Regions from separate parts of the Homo sapiens genome. Here region 1 is linked to region 2. Evidence: promoter capture Hi-C in human tissues and cell types (Jung and others, 2019). All regions are on one chromosome and are shown on one strand. The core of a region is centred on a gene start or on the middle of the fragment in contact, and the rest is flanking DNA. Distances in the headings are between cores, read along the strand shown.

Region 1 (3,348 bases), core at 822-3,321, 1.0 Mb before region 2:
ACAATACCCTGGTCCCATCTTAAAACAACCAGCTACCCCACAGTCTCAGAGTCAGGGATGCTCAAGTACTATTTATTCTGTTTACCAGACATATAGCAGCCGGGCAGGGAGTCTTCATAGCCTGTTGCGTCATGTGATTCCATTCCAGATTTTTCCTTTTATTCCTGTCTCCAAGGCCCCATTGTGCAGGTGCTACTAATTTTCATGAAATGATACTAGGAGGTAAAGAAAGTTCGCTGGCTCTCAGATATCCATCTGTGTGCAAACAGACAGAGTACAGAAAAATAAGTAGAATAACAAAGTTCCTAGTTTTGTGTGGGCTGAGAGTGAAAAAAAAAAGAGTAACGAGGAGTGAAAAGAATGAAGAAGAAAAACAGCTGCACAGGAAAAGGGCAGTGTCACAGGTGCCTCCCACGGTCCTTTGCCGAGAGCCTGTGGGGGAGGCCAAGTGGGGAGAATGGGGGACATCGGGTGGACGACCCAGGGGACCAGCTGGTGTCAGAGAATGGTAGATTAGGATTTGGCCTGCTAGATCATGCTGGCGGCATTGGCCAACATCAAACACGAGGGGGCTCTGGTGACAGGACATGACACTGCACAATCAGAGATCACAGCGAATGGCTTTGCTGAGGTGTCCACTTTACTCCTGCCCCGATCACCTCCCCTTCCTGATTGTTAGTCCTTTTGTTTCTCCAGGAAGTCTCTTCTCATCCCTGTTCACGCCTTCATGTAACAAGCATTTATCACACTAGTACCGTGAGCCACGCGTGTGCTGTGGTTACATCCGTGGAACAGACAGACAGCAGTGCCTGATCTTGTAATTCTTCCATCCTTTCATTCCTTTCTCTCAGTCTGGCCAGAAAAAAAAAAAAAAAGTTCTCCTAACAGAGAATATAGCAACAGGTTGCTGAAAAGTGACATCTGACAAGAAATGAAAGCTGGTTGATAAAAGATTTAAAAGAAAAATGTCAGGCCGGGCTTGGTGGTTCAAGCCTGTAATCCCAGCACTTTGGGAGGCCGAGGCAGACAGATCATCTAAGGTCAGGAGTTCAAGATCAGCCTGGCCCACATGGTGAAACCCCGTCTCTATTAAAAATATAAAAATAAGCTAAGCATGGTGGCGGGCGGCTGTAATTCCAGCTACACGAGAGGCTGAGGCAGGAGAATCGTTTGAACCTGGGAGGCGGAGGTTGCAGTGAGCCGAGATCGCACCACTGCACCCCAGCCTGGGTGACAGAGTAAGACACGGTCTTAAAAAAAAAAAGAAAAGAAAAATGTTCTTTCCTGCTCCTGGCACTCTCCCTGCCCTAGCCTCCTGGGCATGCTATCTCTCAACAAGACCCAGTCTGCCCCAACCAGAGGTGTTGCTAGACCAGCTGCCCAAACAGGAAACCTTATATAATTCTGTAACCCTGACCTTGGGCCTGAATCTTCCCCTTCTGTAAACAGTCCATTCAACCCAGGAAGACCTGCAGACCTGGTTGGGACACATTTTGAAAAACACACACATTGTTAAAAATGTTGAAAAAAGTCCCTAGGTCTAAGAGGAAGTGTTCTGTCTGACTCAGCAGTAGAAATCACTTCATATAAAGTAATGGAACAAATGGAAATTTAATCCTAACAGATGTAACAGGGCAGTCACTTGTGTACACGGATGACTTGATTGCACCTGTTGGAAAGGCTGGGAAAATGAGCCGTGAAATCCTGATCACATTCCCTACTGGAAGCAGCACTCCTGCCTTGCAAATTAGTAAGCCTGATGTTCTCAACATCCTGACTTCAACATGTGTGCCCTAGTTCTGTGCAGGCCATGACTCACTTTAGCTACTGGTCAAATGATTCTTACTCAGAGCCCTAGGTTTCTAATCTTTAGTGTTAAGTGGTCCAGGCACATACTAGCCAAATGTCTGTCTACTTCCTTTTTTTTTTCTCATGCCTGTTTCCCAGTCTGTGTCCTTTCAAGATACTCCCTTGAAATGACTGATTTCAGGCAACAACTGGATTTACATATGGTAGCCTTCAACTTCCTGTTTAACTTACTGCCAAACTTCAATAGAAGTCCAGATTAGAAGTTTTAGACCTCAGCCTCTGGCCCTGGGCCTTCTGAAATGACCTTCCTCCAAACACCATTTAATTTCCGCTAACTTAGTTAATGAATGGAACTTTCTGAAGACAGCAGTTACTTTGATCTGAACCCCTTTCCTAGTTTCCAGTTAACATAGCCAGAGGGAGACAGAAGGGGTGCCCGCCTCTCAATGGGTGCCCTCTCCTCCTGCGTGGCTGGAGCAGCTCCCAGCTGTAGCTATTCCTCTAACGCAGAGAGAGCTGCAGAAAGCAGTTCCCAAAAGGAAGAAGGCAAGTTACAAATACCGCCGTTGGCATTTTCGTGGGTGTTTCCCGCCACATAGAGATAAAAGCTTTGAGGTGGGGCTTTGAGGCACACTCTCTGGGTAGCTGGGCCTGCAGTCTGGAAATCCTAAGTAATCCTTGCAAATAGGCTAACTGGAAGCCAGCAATACAAATGAGCAGTGCTTCTGGCCTGAGAGAAAGGTGTCTGCATTCAAAGTACAACTTCAGATAAAAATGGAAAATGCCAGTCCCACCCTGCAGGAATCCTGTTTCTGGGCTGTTTATCCTCACTGCCATCCACCCTACCCTTGGCTGTGACTAGGATGTGAAGAAAGAGATTGGGTGGAAAAGGCTACCGCAGCTCTTGCTCCGTTTAACTCACCACCTTAAAAAACATGGCCTTGGCTGCTGCTTTAAAACAACAACAACGAAAATCCCCAGCCCCAACCCAGAGGTTTAACCCTGCAGCTAAGGTGAAGTTTTTGTTAAGGTGATAAGGTAAAAAAGGACGCCATTCTGAGCCTTGACTTCCACTCTTCATACTTTTCGGAAGACAAGTCCAGCAAAGACCTCCACCCCTTCCAAAGAGCGACTTACCTCGTAGCTGATCCACAGATTGCAACGTACAGATGTGATGTTCCAGGCTTGGCCACAAGGGGACACTAGAGAGTAGGACTGCCCGCGTCAATGTTTTGTTTTTTACAGACTTTTGGTTGGGAGGGAGGGAGGGAGGGAGGGGGGTGTGGGAGTGGTGGGGGAGATGCTGGCTTTAAAAAAAAGTCCATTTGTTCCCTGAGATTGTGCCACTTGCCCTTTTATAAGTCAAAGGTTGCCACGTTACCTGTTGCCAGGTTCCTGAGAGTGCTTGGGGAAAATGTGGGCGAGAGAGGCACAGCACAGTCCTCCGGCTTGGTAGGTTTCAAGCTCTTTTGACTGGGCTGGCGCTGACATTTGCAGGGGCAGCTGCTGTGGATTGCCTGCGCATTGTTTGGCTGTAGT
Region 2 (3,372 bases), core at 119-2,618:
TTCAAGATCATCATCTTTCCCCTGGGGTATCTCTTTTTTGTTCATGTACACTGAAGTTCTCATTTGCAAGGAACATCTATTTAATTCCATTTAAAAATATTCAACATAAACATTTATTAACTGCCCACTATATATATAGGGGAGTGTGCTAGGCAATGCAGGAGATGCAAAGACGAGTAAGTTACGGTTTTTGCCTTCACAAGGGTATCCGTGGTAGCTAAAGCCCTGTCTGTTACCCAGACCACATTACTGCTGTTGGCTGTGCCTATTTCAATAGGAAGACAAAAAAATTACCTCAAATTCTCTTATTCACCTCAAAATGTTTCCTTTTCTTTGGTTTCAGAGAATGGAATTATTCTGTTTTCCTAATGTCAATCTCTCCTGCTCTGTCCTTAACCCATTGTTTCCTCAATTACTGCCCTTTTGGCATCAATCTCCCCTTCAACAAGGATAAATCATCCGGTCCATAAAATGGTCTATAGGCTGCCTCCATTTACAAACCACATTAACAGGTCACTCCCTTCACATCTGCTAAAAAATTTGTCTCCTAGGATACACATGATTGACAAAACTTTTGATCCTGTCTCATCTCTGCACCCAGCCTTCTCAGGTCCTGCCCTGGCTTTCAGGAAGGTGACAATCCTTTTACTTCTCTGGGTACTCCTTAGTCTTTTACACTGATTAGACTCTTCTTGATTTTGGCCGCCTATTTCCTCTTCAATATGCGCTTGTTCATCTATTCAACTTTTCCACTCACACCTGTGTGTCCACGTTTAATCTCCACTTAGAATGTAGCTCTCATGATTTAAGATGAAGACTTCTACACGCAGTCCTACACGGCCATAAGAAGCTACACTAGTATTCAGACGCAACCCACCCAACGAGTCCTCTCTTGTCCATCTCTTTCCGCCCCCTTCAATTCTTCCCCGTTTCCTCTCCCGAGCCTCCACTCCTCATCAGTGTCCCCCAGGCCCTCCCCTTTCCTCCTTGGGAAATCGTTGCCACTAGAAATTTAATAGATCCCGTGAAACCAGCGCCTCGCACAGTTTTGGCCTCGAGGCTTCTCCCAACAGCAAACAAACACCAAAACATCGCCTCAGGACCTCTAAATTTAAGTCATTGGCGCCATCACTTTCTTCCTCCAGAACAGCTCTGCAGAAACAAAGTTAATCCGATGTCATTCAGTCACCTTTTTTCCAGTTTCCTGACACGACCCAGGGACCGAATTTCTGTAAACCGTGCAAGTATCTGCTAGACAGGACAGCGGTCATCAAAACACCAGGTCCTTCCTCGGCCCGCCAAAGCCGTTCGAATTTGAAATTCTCCGCCGGCGCTGACGTCATTACGCACGACGCGCGCAGTAACTTCCATGCGACCGCCTCGTCGCTGGAAGGCTGCGTGCTGGTCGCGCCCAGCTGCGTCACCCCAGGAACTGGGGTCTGTGGGCCAGTGTGGCCGTCTCTACGAAGACTGGCACGACCCCTAAAGTTAGGTCGGAAGACCTGTGGGCAGCTTGAGCGCCGAGGAGTGCCCTGAACGCTCAACTCGCCCTGGAAACGTTTTTCCGTACAGCAACATGGCGGCGCCCATGGACTCTTAGAAAAGGAGAAAGCTTTTTCTCTGTGGACTGGAAGGGGCATTTTTCATGATCACTATTTAGATGGGTGCTGTTTTCATGAGGAGAGTCTGGGAAGGCGGCGTCCGCTTTTCTGACAAGGGAAGAGGTGAGGTGGGAGAGGGGCTGCGGAGTGGGTGGAATGGGCTCCCAGGATTGCGTTGGTACGGCTGCCGAAATTCGGGCTCAGTATTTGATCACTTGCCGGAGGCTCACGGTCCTCTGGTGGTGGCTGACCTGTGAGAGGCTAGGAAGAATCCAAGTGTTTGGGGGCGGGCGGCGAGGGAGTGGATGTGAAGCAGAGACGCAGGAGAGGGGTGCACTAACAACAGTAACAGTAGATCACTTTGCTAAAATAGGATTTCCTCGCTGCTGTGAGTTTGAATCCAGAAACAGGCACTGCCCGGTACCTGGAGAGTGGTGGTGATGAAAGATCTCACAGCTCCAGGAAGTCTGGATACTTGGGTCTGGTAGCAATTGTGCCATTAACTAGCGTTGTTATTTTTGGGCAGCTTGCCTTTCTGCTCTGAGTTTCAATTTTCCCGTCTGAATTTCTAGCTCTCACTAGCCATTCCAGGACCCTTTTCACCTCAGCTGTGGCCTATGAAGGGGATGGGGAGGAACCAAGGATTATATTAATATAAAAATTATATGAAAATTAGGCAACCGTCTGATAATAAAAAGTCTCCTTGTGGAATACTGTTAGGTTAAACTTTACCTACAGATTGTTAAATCCTTAGCACTAATGTTTTCCCCAGAAAAGATTAATGGAAACATCATTTGCTTTTCTGACTAGATAGTTGCTGCTTCCAAAGGTGGTTTTACACAAATACAAAATTAAAAACACCTTTAGTACAGAAATAATTGCTTGTATTTCGGTATACATTCACAGTACAGTTCAGCATTTAGTGGTCCTGCTAGCAATTTGCCAGGAAGTCAAGCCTGCCAATTTCCTGATATTCCTGCTGTGCACCCCAACTTCTTAATCCCTGCTGAGGATCTTGAGAAGCAGCAGCACCAAAACCAAAGTAGGCACCAAATTCAAGGTTCTTTTGGTTCCGGTTGTCACATTTCAAGCTAGACTCCAATAGATGGAAGGATGATCACATGTGAGCCCTGTTTAAAACTTCAATTTTTAAGAGCAAGCACAATTGCAGGAAAAGAAAACAATTCAGAGGGATCATGTGTGCTTACAGTTGTCTTCATGTGGCCTTTTCCCAGGTTTAACCACCAAGGACCCTGACAGCCGGGGTGTCTGAATAACCCTGGTGACTCTTTTCACCATATCAAAACCTGAGTTAAAAGGCTGATGATAACAGCAGAAGGTGGCAGGGCTGAGGACCCACTATTAATTTCCTAGGCTGGTGGAGAGTGAATAAATGTTCTTCCAACCTTACCTTATGGCTTCTGGTCAAAGCAAAGAAGTGTCGTGGAAAGTGTTGGGTGGTGACAGTGCAAAAAGAGACTTGACGGGGAGGGAGCAGCATCTCTTGATAAAGGTGGGGAAGAGAAGATATGGGGAAAGCCCTGAATTCCTCATGGAAGGCGAATCTCAGAGGGGAGCGGAGCAGAGGGCTTATGATCTGTGCTTTGGCCAAGGGTGGGAGTGGAAGAGGTGGGGACAGGACAGTGGTTTGGAAGGAGCATCACTGAATACTTAAACTGAGTGCCCACACACTCAGCAGTGGTCCCACAGGCTGTGATCTTCACGTCTACTCTAACAAGCCTCCCAGGCTAGAGGGCTGTTGCAGTGGGTG

The links. The method cuts DNA at HindIII sites, captures the fragments that hold promoters and counts their contacts. A contact is called where the count stands out against the background at its distance.
Region 1: a contact is called between a fragment that was not itself captured here and the fragment with the promoter of METTL4 in region 2, in 1 of the 25 tissues and cell types used here (lymphoblastoid cells).

Annotation. Positions count from the first base shown.
Region 1 is chr18:3,594,083-3,597,430 of GRCh38, reverse strand. The region is part of intron 7 of DLGAP1 (DLG associated protein 1); the gene reads left to right. DLGAP1-AS1 (DLGAP1 antisense RNA 1) reads right to left here and starts at 3,317. Exons shown (of 3, transcript NR_024101.1): 1 at 3,191-3,317; 2 at 2,947-3,011; 3 at 52-852. RefSeq lists enhancers at 203-1,174, 1,898-1,997, 1,175-2,145 and a silencer at 2,266-2,560. The HindIII fragment of the contact is 6,480 bases long and covers 1-3,348 here.
Region 2 is chr18:2,569,501-2,572,872 of GRCh38, reverse strand. METTL4 (methyltransferase 4, N6-adenosine) reads left to right here and starts at 1,368. Exons shown (of 9, transcript NM_022840.5): 1 at 1,368-1,724. NDC80 (NDC80 kinetochore complex component) reads right to left here and starts at 1,316. Exons shown (of 17, transcript NM_006101.3): 1 at 1,190-1,316. RefSeq lists enhancers at 1,311-1,470, 1,353-2,275. The HindIII fragment of the contact is 12,565 bases long and covers 1-3,372 here.